Linked DNA regions of Homo sapiens: region 2 is linked to region 1. The links are contacts of gene promoters, found by promoter capture Hi-C in blood cells and fetal thymus (Javierre and others, 2016). All regions are on one chromosome and are shown on one strand. Each heading gives the region's core, a stretch centred on a gene start or on the middle of the fragment in contact. The rest is flanking DNA. Distances are from core to core; before and after follow the strand shown.

Region 1 (6,785 bases), core at 3,487-5,986:
CGCGGGGCCCCAGATGCAGCCATGGAGGGGACTGGGGGCAGGCAGCCAGCCAGCTGTGCAGGCCATGCTGGGGCAGAAGTGCTCACGGCTGCTCAGCTGTCTGCTGTGAGATAATGGTAACTCCAGTTGATTTGTTGAGATCTGCCCACCATGTTGGTCCCATGAATCCCCTACTTCCTGACAAGGATCCTGACTAAGGGTTAGTGCTGTCACTGCACCACAGAGACACAGGCTTGTGGGGGCTGAGTAATTGGTCCGAGGTGCTCAGCTCTCATCAAGGCCATGCTCAAAACTGAGCTCTCTGATTCCAGGGAGCCAGCTTTCCCTAGGGTACCACACACCTCTCCTCCAGGTGACAGGATCCAAACTGCTGAGCCTCTGAGCCAGCAGGAATGGATGAGGGGTGTGGGCCCTGCACAGGATGCTTGAGTATCACATGCCACATCCCCCCGGTCCCCCTCTCCACTCCCGTTACTGCTGCAGGCACACCCCAGCAGCACCTTGCCAGGTATCTGCACTGAGGATCCCTCGTTTCCTGCCCAGTCCGCTCACTGCTTAGCCTCCTTTGCACAAGAGCCAGGGAGAGAATACCCCAACTGGCAACCCTTAACCAACAGGGAAGGATGAAAGGAGGACGAACACCCACCTTTGCCAGCCCTCCAGTGGAAAGCTCTGAGGTGCCTTCTGCAAGGCTCATCAGAGGGTCCCAGCAGGATCAAGGCCCCCTCCCACACCAGTGGCCAACTCCGTCACAAACCCTCATATTTACCGGCTTTCCTGCCTTCTCTGTTTTGAGCTTCCCAGGCTCCTGCTCTGTTTCCCTGGAATCACTTCCCCAGTTGAACCACCTGCATGCAGGCCGGGTCTCAAGCTCTGCTTTCAGGCCCCAGACAGGGCTCTCCTGGTGCCCAGCACCAGGGGAGCTAATGATCTTCTCTCTCCCACTTCTGTTTTCCCCCAGGACACAGAGTTCTGCTCTGATCTATTGTTTGCTGGATTCAAGAGCCACCACATTCCCCGGGGGGGCCAAACCATTCTTGTTTATCCAGTAACAATTAATTCTCAGCCATGATTTCTAGTCTTGAACCACACAAACAAAAAGTTGCCTTCAGCAAAGAGGCATCCCATCCAGGCAGATGCTGGATTGAGGTTGGGGGGGGTCAGGATGCCCTCCAAGCTTCGACCTAAGTCTATGATTCTGTCTTCCTTTTAGGACAAGCCACAGGGGCAAGTCACCCATGCAGCCATTTGAGGTCCTGAGTTGTGTGTGTATAGATTTCCTGTATCATTTGATTATAAAAGCGAAGCATGCCAGTTGTCCAGGTTACATCAATACAAAATGTATAGCTTGGAAAGTGAAAACAGCTCCCCCATAATCCCACCCTTTTCACTCGAGGGTGGATATTTTTCATTGCCCTGGGACCAGGACATTCTCAGTATCAGGGAATGAGGCCAGCTGGTCCCTTCAAGGACAGCCAGTGCCTTTATAAAGTACCATTTCTTCTTAGGGAGACTTCCATTCATTCAATGACTATTTTTTGAGTATCTACTAGGTGCCAGGTACTGGGGAAGCCACTGTGAGTGAGATGGATGAGGCCCTCGCGGCATTTTCCCTGATCTCCTCTGTGGCAGGATGTCAAGCAGCTCTCTTGCCCAGGAATATTCACCCAGATGCTTCTGGCTCCCCGGGAGTCCTCGCAAGGGCCTACTGCTGTCCCACTGCGTTTCCCATATCCACAGGGAAAGGCCGTGCCAGAACCCTGAACGCGGAGCAGGGATGGGAATGTGCTGTGCTCTTCCTGCGGCTGGGCCTTTGCAGGGAGGCTCCAGCCACCTGGAACGCCTGCCTTTCAGGCCCATCAGATCCTTCCCTCTTGCCCTGAAAGGCCCTGTCTCTGATCACCTCAGCCAGAAGTCACCCCCAACTGTAACCTGTGTACACCTGAGGGTCTGCCTCATGAGTCAACATGGTGCCTTGGCAGAACTATAAGGCTCCTCTGGTTTCCCCAGTGCCCGCTGAACAGGGGCCCACAGAGGAGAGATAGGGATGGTGGAAGAACAGGGAGTGGGACAGTGAAGCCAGCAGGCAGGGGCTGGAGAGGCAGGGATCAATTTGTTGTTGTTCTTTTTATATGAGGGTGCCTCTGTGTGGAACTCTCTCCCTTCATGGGGTGGGAGGCTGGGGCATGAGTGGTGGCAGAGGGCCCAGCAGAGAACCCTCTCAGCTTAGGAGCTGGGCATGGCCTTGCGGACAGGGTGCCACACTGAGAATCACAGGGCTGGCATGTATGCCAAGGAAGGGGAAGGGACCCACAGAGGGTGCAACATGGTGTCTCTTGTGCCAAAGCAGGACCAAGCACAAGATTTATCAGCCTTTTAAAAAACATTAGCACATCTCTCCCCCAACCCCCACTTTTTTTTGAGATAGGGTCTCATTCTGTTGCCCAGGCTGGAGTGCAGTGGTACGATCTTGGCTCACTGCAACCTCTGCCTCCTAGGGTCAGGCGATTCTCCCACCTCAGTCTCCTGAGCAGCTGGGACTTCAGGCACCCGCCACCACGCTCGGCTAATTTTTGTATTTTTTGGTAGAGACAGGGTTTTGCCATGTCAGCCAGGCTGGTCTCGAACTCCTGACCTCAAGTGATCTGCCTGCCTCGGCCTCCCAAAGAGCTGGGATTACAGGCATGAGCCACTGCGCCTTGCCGTACATTACATCTCCCTTTGTAAAACATAAAAGTCATGTCCTCTTTAACATCATGTGACAATTCAAAATAAATGTTTAAACCTCCAGCAAAGTCCAGGCATGATGGCTCACACCTGTATTCCCAACACTTTGGGAGGCTGAGGCAGGCAGATCACTTGAGGTCAGGAGTTCGAGACCAACCTGGCCAACATGATGAAACCCTGTCTCTACTAAAAATACAAAATTTAGCCAGGCATGGTGGCAGGTGCCTATAATCCCAGCTACTTGGGAGGCTGAGGCAGGAGAACTGCTTGAACCCAGGAGGCGGAGGTTGCAGTGAGCTGAGATGGCCACTGCACTCCAGCCTGGGCGACAGAGTGAGACTCTGTCTCATAAATAAATAAATAAATGCCTTCCTTTTTAAAAAACAAAAACAAAAAACAAACCACAAATAACTCCCTCCAAAAAAAATCCCCCCCAAAACCCAAAAACCTCCAGCAAATTAAAACAATGGGGCAGCCCAGAGCAGTGGCTCATCCCTGTAATCCCAGCACTTTGGGAGGCTGAGGTGGGCGGATCACTTGAGGTCAGGAGTTCAAGACCAGCCTAGCCAACATAGTGAAACCCCATCTACTAAAAATACAAAAATTACCCCGGGCTTGGTGGTGTGTGCCTGCAATCCCAGGTATTCAGGAGGCTGAGGCAGGAGAATTGCGTGAACCTGGGTGGTGGAGGTTGCAGTGAGCTGAGATCACAACACTGCACTCCAGCCTGGGTGACAGAGTGAGACTCAGTCTCGAAAAAATAAAAAATAGAAATAAAATAAAACAATGGGGCAAAGTTTTGCTTTATTTAAATTACCAAACTCCTATATCTGATGTTAGGTCCCCTACCTTTGGAATCAAAGCCCTGCGAAGTATGGGCTGAAGGTGGCGCCTTTTCAGACAGAGTGTGAGGGAACGGTAGAAACAGCAGTGGCAGGATCGATTCTCTAATGGATCCATTCCCCGAGGGATGCAAGGTGATGCCTGAGGTTCTGGAAGGGGTGCCCGCGGATAACTCTCAGGGGCATGGGGTGGCAGCTCCATCCAGGGTCTGGATAGCCAAGTTTCTCTCCCCTCTGTTCATTCCTTCAGCTCTCCCCAGGGGAGATGACCCCCTATTGCTGCTGGCTGTCCTCAGCACTTACCTTCCCACACATGCTTTTGTCCCTTTTGTCCCAAAACATTCTATCTCTTTCCTCTTCCTTTATTTAAATTCCCAAAGCCTGTAGTTGATCTTAGCACGGTGTTCTGTCAAATGCAAGGAAAATAATTTATACTATGGTGTAAGAGACTGATAGGTTTAACTATTCAAAGGAGCATTCGCATCTTTAAGGGACAGTTTGTGAACTCAAACACATCTCAAACGGGTAGAATGTGCACGGGAAATCTCTTCGAAGCAGGGTCTCAGGAACTCTTCCAGTTCCACGTGTGTAGTGCCCACCGGGCCACCGCCACCCGCCTCCTGGGAGCAGGACAGGGCTCCGCTGCCGAGCCCCTCTGCGGAAAGCTCAGGCCCGGCGCTCCGGAGTCTGGGCTCCCGGGGTGGGCGGGGATACTTAGGCCCCACGTGCCCCGCGGCGGAGCGGTCCCCAAACCTGAGCCCTGGCCTCTGCCGGCCCGGAAGGAAGCCGCGGCGGAGGAGGGGGCGGCGGGGTGCCCCGAGCGCGCCTCACCTGCGGGCGGGCGCGTCCCGGGCTTCCATCCTCCTAGACCGGGCCTCCTCGCTGGAAGGGGTGGATTCGCCCCAGCCCTGCCGCCCACCGCCCACCGCCCACGCCCGCGCCCGCGCCCGCGCTTCCACGCAGCCATCGCCCCAGCCCGCCGCCCGCGCCGGATCGGGGGCCGCCCGGGCCCCTCCACCTCTCGCCCGCGCGGGTCCTGGGACCGCCGCCCGGCGCCTCCCTCGCCGCCCCACTCCGGAACGCGCCGCCGAGAGGGCGGAGACTGGGGCGAGGGAGGGGCCGCCCCGCCCGCCTCCCGCCTCCCGCCTCCCGCCTCCCGGGGCCTGGAGCGCGCGTGGCCCCGGAGCCGCCGGCGCCGCGCGGGGAATAGCTGTGCAGCACGCCGAGCCCGGACTCGGCTGGCTCGGCTCGGCGCGGGCGGGCGAGAGGATGCTGGCGGGCTTCCCCGGGCTCGGCCCGCGCTCCCGCCGGGGAGGGCCCCGCGCGCGCCCCTAGCAGCCGCCGCCGCCGCGGGTGCAGGGGAGGGGTCCGGAGAGCCGCGCTCGCCGCCGCCCGCGCCTGCCGGCCCCCGCACGGCCCCTGCCCCTGAGCCTCAGCCCCAGGGCGGGCGCGCTGGGCCGGCGCCCACGGATCTCCCAGCCCTCGTCGCCGCCTCCTCCTTCCCCCTGCGGCCGGGCGCCCGCGGATGCTGAGGGGCAGCCCTGCGCCTCTCCCGGTCGGATCCCGGGCCTGACGGCGGGAGATCGCGCTCCGGCCGGGCCCCGAGGCGCTGCCGGGGCGGCGCGGCTCTGCGGGGAGCAGCCCTCGGGCGCGCCGAGCTCTCCCGCCCCAGCCCGCGCGGGGACCGTCCCGGAGCACGCGGTGGCCGAGTTCCCGCACAGGTAAACGCAGGGGCAGGGCCAGGCTTCCGGGGGGGAAGACAGCGCCCCGAGCGTGGGAAGGGGGCCGGATCGGAGCCCGAGCCTCCAAGGGTTTGGTGGAAAAAGGAAGTAAACAGAAGGAAGGCTCAGGAATCCCCCACGATGGTCCTGATTTCTTTCCGGCACATTTTATTTACAGCTTCTAAGGACTGGGCCTGGAGGGAATTTAGGTGAGGAAGTCGGGGACTGAGAAAGAAGAGATGACAGAGAGAAACCGGTTACCAGGGATGGAAAGGCGGCTAGGCCCTTCCACAAGCCAGGGACAGGAAATTGAGTGTCTGGCGTGGACAGGACTAAGTGTGCCTGCGGTGGGCGGTGGTGTGAGCCGGGGGTGGCAGGGAAGGCCCTGGGTTGGGAGGCTCTTGCAGCAGAGATCCTTTTATGAGGGTTAGGGCGGGTCATGGGGAAACCGCAAGGTAGGAGGGAAGAGGTGCTTCTACTCAGCAATGCCCTTTTCAGTTCTAGCTGATCAGTGCTACCTGTGCTCTGGAAACCCGCTCTGCGTTCCTGCTGGAGGTGGCCTCCCCTCCGCCCCAGACAAGAAGAGGCCCTCAGCCCTCCCCCGGTCTCAGAGAGCCCTGAGAGGAGGCCCAGTCCAGAGCTCTTCCTCCGTTCCCAGTCCACTTCTCTAGGGCCAGTAGCAGACACCAGCCAGTATGCCGAGGAACCAGGGCTTCTCCGAGCCCGAATACTCGGCCGAGTACTCAGCCGAGTACTCCGTCAGCCTGCCCTCCGACCCTGACCGCGGGGTGGGCCGGACCCATGAAATCTCGGTCCGGAACTCGGGCTCCTGCCTGTGCCTGCCTCGCTTCATGCGGCTGACTTTCGTGCCGGAGTCCTTGGAGAACCTCTACCAGACCTACTTCAAAAGGCAGCGCCACGAGACCCTGCTGGTGCTGGTGGTCTTTGCAGCCCTCTTTGACTGCTACGTGGTGGTCATGTGTGCTGTGGTCTTCTCCAGCGACAAGCTGGCTTCCCTCGCCGTGGCTGGAATTGGACTGGTGTTGGACATCATCCTCTTCGTGCTCTGCAAAAAGGGGCTGCTCCCGGACCGGGTCACCCGCAGAGTGCTGCCCTACGTGCTGTGGCTGCTCATAACCGCCCAGATCTTCTCCTACCTGGGCCTGAACTTCGCGCGTGCCCACGCGGCTAGTGACACGGTGGGCTGGCAGGTCTTCTTTGTCTTCTCCTTCTTCATCACGCTGCCCCTCAGCCTCAGCCCCATCGTGATCATCTCCGTGGTCTCCTGTGTGGTGCACACGTTGGTCCTGGGGGTCACCGTGGCCCAGCAGCAGCAGGAGGAGCTCAAGGGGATGCAGCTGCTGCGGGAGGTGAGTCCTGCCCACTGTCCCCCCACAGCGTCCTCTCCTGCAGCTCTCACCAACTTGGGACCTGTTGGAGTTGCTGTTTGCTTTGCCTTTGAGTCAAAATGTGTCCTGGGGGCCTCCGGGGCTCT
Region 2 (6,882 bases), core at 3,991-6,490, 490 kb after region 1:
CACTTGAAACCGGGAGGTGGAGGTTGCAGTGAGCCAACATTACACCACTGCACTCCAGCCTGGCAACAGAGCGAGACTCTGTCTCAAAAAAAAAAAAAAAAAAAAAAAAAGAAGAAGAAGAATATAAACCCCTGGTTGTGGTTTACATAGAAAAATACCTACTAACTTCAGGATGGGAGTGGGGAGTGGAGCCAGGGGAAGAAGGGGTAGGTTTTAATGTATACCAAATTGTTTAGAAAAAGTTGTGAAGTAAATGTGTCACAAAGTTAATATTTATCGATCTGGGCCTTAGGTGTTGTTTCTGTTCATTTGAAATATTCCAGTATGAACATATGCTTATTTTTAAATGCCTCGGTGCATTTGCTCTCAGTTAGTAAAGAAAACTTCAACTGGCTGTTTCCCGATGGAATCCACTTTCTCCACCCAGGGCTGGACCACCAGCTGCCCCGCTTTTTGCCGGCTGCTTGCTGACCCTAATAGATGGCTTGGGATATTCGAAGGGTAATGTCTTTTCTGTCTGCAAAGCTCTTGATCCTGGGTTCTCAGTCATGGTTGCAAAGGAAATTCTCCCTCAGATTTCTTACAGAACTCCTGCAGCTGTCAGGCAGGGCAAGAAGCCAAAATACCCAGGGAACAACTTGAACAGGCATCAGCATAGTTCCCGCTCAGAGCAGGAGTCCCAACAGAGAGTATCCTGTTCCTGTTCCTTTTCCTTTTGAAGCCAGAGATCAAGCCTTTGATTTGTGTGGTGATGATTATCATGTAGCCTGCTGGGTGTACCGGGCTCTGGGAGTGGAGCTAAGAGGCACCTAATTCCCCCAGCGCTCCCCAGAGCCTCCTGAGCCCCAGCAGATAACTTCATAGTCAAGCTGAGATTGTCTTTTTGCCTTTAAATTCATACATGCAGCCCGGAGGCCACTCAGCTTCCCGGTATTTTCATTAAGAATCCCCTCAGCAGTCATTTTCATACTTCATAGCCTCTGATAAGGAGGAAAGAGCTTGCTATTCTGGCTTTGTTTCTGTTTGAAGAGTGCGTCCCCAAAGGAATTCTATGTGTCCCAGATTCAACACAGCTGTTAATTAGAGCTGAGAACACTTGGTTGACCCCTGTGTGGCTAATTGCTAGAACTGAGAAGCGTCTCTAAGGGCCTCCCATGATAACAACTGAAAATTGTATTGAGCCTCACCTAACGCTTCTGGATCCAGTTCAGGATGGAAAGCAATAGGCTCCCTGCGGTTCCTGGCACAGGAGAGACAGCTATGTGCTGAAGGAGCAGCATTAAGGATTCTCTTCAGTGATTAAAACACCCACATTTCACTTTGGATGTGCGACTTGAGGCAGTGCACTCGGAAGGGCTGATGGGAGAGCTCCGAACTGTGCAATGGCGCAGGCGTGGCCTACTTCGGAGGGCTTCAGCTACTCCCTTTATGTTATGGTCTGATGCCAGCACTGCCACCACCTCACCCCCAGTTCCGTGGGACGGAGTGTGAGACAACTCCTGTCGGGACCCTAGGCCAGCTTCTGAGGTGGGGCCTCAGGCAACCATTCTATCACCTAGCCCTTAAAATGAGAAAAACGCTTAAAAATCACCCAGCTCCCTGCCGGGCCCACAAGGGTGGCATCGCCTCCCTGCCCCGTTTGCTCTGCGGACAGGGAACAACAGTGGAAACAGCCAGAAACAGAAAGGTGGGCTGACAAGAGCTCGGTCTAGGTGGGAAAGGAGAGAAGATGAGGAAGAGAGGCCTCAAAATGAACTCTGGAAGTCAGAAACACTGTCAGAGGGACAGTGATCAGGGAGAAAAAAATGGGGACCATGACACAGAGAGAGGAGGAGGCATGAAGGATGGAAGAGGAATGGATGAGACCAGCCAAAGACAGTGATAAGAGAAGTGGCTCTTCCTCCTTTCTCCCCAGGTCCTGGGGAGAGAGAAAATAGCAGAGCTGATGGTGAGTGTTTTGGCCTTCTCAGCCAAGAGGCCCAGAGCATACCCCAGATAGTTTAGTGCTCTGGCCAACTCCACCCCCCAGGCCTGGCCTACAGGAGGTGACCTGGAGCCAGCAGTGTAAGGAGAGACTTGTGATCCCTTTTCCAGAGGAGGCTCAAACTATGGGTCCAATTCCAGGGAGTAACAGCAACAGAAAAGCAACCCAGAGTCAGCCTTGCCCAAGGCCAGGTTGGGGAAAGACCCAAAGGAAGCTGGAGGAAAAGGAATCAACTTCACGCTCTCATAGACCATAGACTGGCTGTCAAGGGTACCTTGCTCCAGGGACAGCTGGGAACCCCACAGATCTTGAGTCTCTAATTGAACCTTTCAGACCCTTTCTTCTAACAGACACTTCCTCACTAACAAACATACACAGAGGGCCCTGGGAGGGCTCAGCCTAGGTTGAGCAAGGATAGGGGAAAAACAGAGACAGCGAGCATGGCTGCTGTCTGCAGGCAATGGCTTGGAGAAAAAAAAACAAATACGGGCTGGGCATAGTGGCTCATGCCTGTAATCCCAGTGCTTTAGGAGGACTGCTTGAGCTCAGGAGTTTGAGACCAGTCTGGGCAACACAGCAAGATCCTGTCACGGTGGCATGCATCTGTAGTCCCAGCTACTCGGGAGGCTGAGGCAGGAGGATTGCTTGAGCCCAGGAGTTTGAGGCTACAGGAAGCTAGGATCATGCCACTGCACTCCAGCCTGGGTGACAGAGCAAGACTCTGTCTTTTAAATAAAACTTGAATACACAGGAAATCACAGTGTACAACACAGAAGAGCATCAAATGATTAGCTAAACTGTGTAGTGTAGGCTCAAAGTCTGTAGGGACTGGGAGGTGGGCCGATTAGGGCTGGAGTAGTCAGGGAGACTTCACCGAGGAGGTAGGACTTGAGCATCAGTGAAGACTTCCAGGGTCTTCAAAGTCAGAAGTGCTTTACTTGGGTAAAATGACACAGCTGATCTCACTTGACTGGAAGGCTCATGGTAGAGAATGATGAGAAGTCACGGTCCTTTATTGCCATAAAATGTACACGAAGCTGTATATTTTGAGACTTTTCATGTAAGTTTTCATAATTGCTCCTTACAAGCCTTCTAAGAAAAAATTTTTATTTTCAGAATTAGAAAACAGCTCAGATTTTATACCATCCCGGCTCCCCGTATTACATTTAATAAAATGAATCCCAAAGGTCAAGGGACTAACTCAAGGTTACACAGTTAACAAGAGCCAGGACCCTACGTCAGGTCTTATTATTCTACTCAAACAGACTTTCCAAAAGCTGGATAGATGCAGTTTTGTTTTCATTTATATGGAATTACTTTCTAAAATAGAGACCTACAAGAAAAAGAGTAATTTTATGTTTTTCCTTACAATAAGAGAAATATATAATCTTCATAGAAAGCTTAGAAAACGTAGATAAACCAAAAATTAAAATCATCCATAATCACCATAATCACAGCATCTAGTTCATAGGCTTTTTTTAATTAAAAAACAAAACAAAACAAAACAAAACAAAACAAAAAAACAAAAACAGAGATGGGGTTGTGCTATGTTGCCCAGGCTGGATTCAAACTCCTGGGCTGTGCTCAGCTTCCTGAGTAGTTGGGACTACAGGCGTACACCAGTGCACCCAGCTCTAGGCTTTTTGAAAATCATTAAAAGTTTATATTATTTTCAGTTGACCCTTACATACAAGTAGCTTTATCAGGAGCAAATGTCTCTGGTACCTTTAAGGAGAGGCATTTCAGGCAGGACAATGTGGTAGGAAGAACGTAAGATCTGGAAGCCAAAGATCTAGGATCAAGTTCTGTTTCAGTCATTACCAGCTGTTTGATCTTCCATAAATCAGGGAACTTCCTTGGGTTTCACTTCCTCATTTGCAAAATGCTGGGGGTCCAGTGATCCACTTAGATGTCTGTTCTGAGTCTGGACTTCAAAAATCAAACATTGTAAACTTGGAACAGTTAGGGCCAGGCACAGTGGCTCACGCCTATAATCCTAGCACTTTGGGAAGCCAAGGTGGGTGGATCACCTGAGGTCAGGAGTTCGAGACCAGCCTGGCCAACGTGGCGAAACCCTGTCTCTACTAAAAATACAACAATTAGCTAGACGCACGTCCTGTTGGCGCGTGCCTGTAATCCCACCTACTCAGGAGGCTGAGGCAGGAGAATTACTTGAACCCGGAAGGTGGAGGTTGTAGTGAGCTAATATTGCGCCATTGCATTGCAGCCTGGGCAACAAGAGCGAAACTCCATCTCAAAAAAAAAAAAAAAAGAAAGAAAGAAAGAAAAAGAAAAGAAAAGAAAAAACTTGGAACAGTTAATTAAAACAAAACAAAACAATATGTGATGTTTTTAAAGGAATGTAACAGCATGTTAAAATAGGGCTTTTCCTTTCTCAGAGTTTTGGCTGAGGCTTCAAAACTGAGAACAATAGGTTTCAGTCCCTCCTCCACATCCTAAGTGAGGTACAAGACTGTCCAGGCAGGACTTGCAAAGAGAGTGGCCTTGTGCCAGTTCTGCCATGGTTAGACCTTCACCCATCTCCAGGCTTCCTAAGAGAAGGGACAGAGAGGCTGCGTTCTGATATCAGTGGAAAAAGTTCTTGAGTGGAAGGCTGGTGGGTGGCAGTAGAGCAAAGCCAGGGGACCCAGAAGGAACAAGCCACACTTGCAGAAACAGTGGGGAAGTTTGTGCCAGGGGGACATGAGGAAGAAAGCTGGACTTGAGTCATCTTACAGACCCTATCTAAGAGGACCTTCTGGATGATTCCAACATAAGAAACACTATGCGGGATGGTCAACTGGAATTCAAGTCATAAAGGGGAGAATGGAAGAGCCTAGCTAAAATGGGCACTGTCCAAGTCAAGGGAATGCTTAGTAGGAGGGCCAAAGGAGGAAGGGTCTCTAAACAAATTCTCAAAAGCACCTCACTAGAGAAATACCCGTTAGATCTGCTACTTACCAAGGGTGCTGTGATTACAACTCAAGAGCCACTGAAGGCCTCTGTTTATTTAATCCCCTCTCTCCTGGGCCCAGCTAATGCAAGAGGAGGAGAAACAAAGAGAAGACAATGACTGGAACCCCCTTCTTCCCTATATGCTTGCAAGCCTAAGTTTGCTCACACTAGTGACAGGGAGAACTTTAATTTGGATAAGAAATTAAAATTTTGATATTTGATTGGACTGAACTTTTCAATACCTGATGATAAACGGAAAACCATGGGTAGGGGCTGGGTGCCATGTCTCACGCCTGTAATCCCAGCACTTTGGGAGGCCGAGGTGGGCAGATCACTTGGGCCGTGGAGTTGGAGACCAGCCTGAGTAAAATGAGGAAACCCTGTCTTTACAAAAAAATACAAAAATTAGCTGGGTGTGGTGGTGCATGCCTGTGGTCCCAGCTACTTGGGAGGTTGAGGTGAGAGGCTCAGCAGAGCCTAGGAGGTCAAAGCTACAGTGAGTCATGATTGCACCACTGCACTCCAGCCTGCATGACAGAGCGAGACCCTGTCTCAAAAGAAAAAAGAGACAACCATGGATGGGTAGGGAAGAAAGATTTGAGAGAGTAGGGACATTCTTTCTCAATCCATTTTGTGCTACTCTAACAGAGCATCTGAAACAATAATTACTAAAGAGCAGAGATTTATTTCTTACAGTTCTGGAGGCTACTAAGTCCAAGGGGCCCACATTGATCAGATAACCTTCTTCTTTCTTTCTTTTTTTGAGACAGAGTCTCACTCTGCCACCCAGGCTGGAGTGCAGTGGCGCAATCTGCAATTCTCCAGGCTCAGTCGAGTAGCTGGACTTACAGGCCCCTGCTACCACACCCGGCTAATTTTTGTATTTTTTAGTAGAGATGGGGTTTCACCATATTGGTCAGGCTGATCTTGAACTCCTGACCTTGTGATCCACCCAACTCAGCCTCCCAAAGTGCTGGGATTACAGGCATGAGCCATCACACCCAGTCTCTTGCTTTTTTTTTTTTTTTTTTTTGAGACTGGGTCTTGCTCTGTTGCCCAGGCTGGAGTGCAGTGGTGCAATAATGGCTCACTGTGGCCTGGACCTCCGGGGCTCAAGCAATTCTTCCACCTCAGCCTCCACAGTAGCTCGGACTACAAGCACATGCCACCACACTCAGCTAATTTTTTTATTTTTTGTAGAGATGAGGTCTCACTATTGTTGCCCAAGCTGCTCTCAAACTCCTGGGCTAAGAGATCCTCCCACCTCATCCTCCCAAAGTGCTGGGATTACAGGTGTGAACCAACACATCCAGCCTACCAGGGACCTTCTTGCCGCATCATCCCATGGCAAAAGGTGGAAGGGCAAGACAGCATGGACCCATGCATGCACATGAAAGAGAGGAAGAGAGGGAAGGAGAGAGAGAGGAGAGGGGAGAAGGAGGCAATGAGGGGAGGGGAGAGGGCTGAAATCATCCCTTTATCAGGAACCAACTCTGGCAGTAACAAACCCACTCCCTCAGTAATGACCTTAAACCATCAGTGAAAACAGAGCCCTCATGACCTAATCACGGCTTAAAGATCCCACCTCTCAACACCATTGCATTGGGGATTAAATTTCCAACATATGAATTTCGGGGGACACATTCAAACCACAGCATAGTTATAAGATAGGACAAGTGCTTTCTGTTTGAGCCATCCCAAATCCATCTTGTTTAATATACTGGTTACAGGGGAATAACTTTGGGGAGTTGGGGAAGGATTGATTGCAAACGGGAGAGACTAGCATCTATTGTCTAGATATTAGACAAGGAGGCACTGTGGGCTGAGGCTATTCCTGAGGTAAACCTGGCAGGACTTAATGACTGCTTAGATGTGGAAGGGAAGAACGGTGGATGACTCATGACAGCTTCTAAAGTTTCTAGCCTGAGAGTCTGAAAGATGGC

The links. Contacts are between HindIII fragments. The CHiCAGO score rates a contact against its expected background, and 5 or more counts as called.
Region 2: a contact is called between a fragment that was not itself captured here and the fragment with the promoter of ADCY3 in region 1, in 1 of 17 cell types (endothelial precursors). The highest score is 5.5, in endothelial precursors.

Annotation. Positions count from the first base shown.
Region 1 is chr2:24,918,188-24,924,972 of GRCh38, reverse strand. It overlaps ADCY3 (adenylate cyclase 3), which reads left to right and starts at 4,736. Exons shown (of 22, transcript NM_004036.5): 1 at 4,736-5,290; 2 at 5,789-6,660. The coding sequence starts at 5,986. It overlaps LOC124907742 (a long non-coding RNA gene), which reads right to left and starts at 4,629. Exons shown (of 2, transcript XR_007086246.1): 1 at 4,401-4,629; 2 at 3,515-3,975. RefSeq lists silencers at 4,182-4,271, 4,282-4,491, 4,532-4,591, 4,622-5,351. The HindIII fragment of the contact is 7,828 bases long and covers 1,180-6,785 here.
Region 2 is chr2:24,429,893-24,436,774 of GRCh38, reverse strand. The region is part of intron 2 of LOC105374329 (a long non-coding RNA gene); the gene reads right to left. Among named protein-coding and RNA genes, the nearest start is that of NCOA1, 58 kb to the left of the region's middle. The HindIII fragment of the contact is 3,708 bases long and covers 3,387-6,882 here.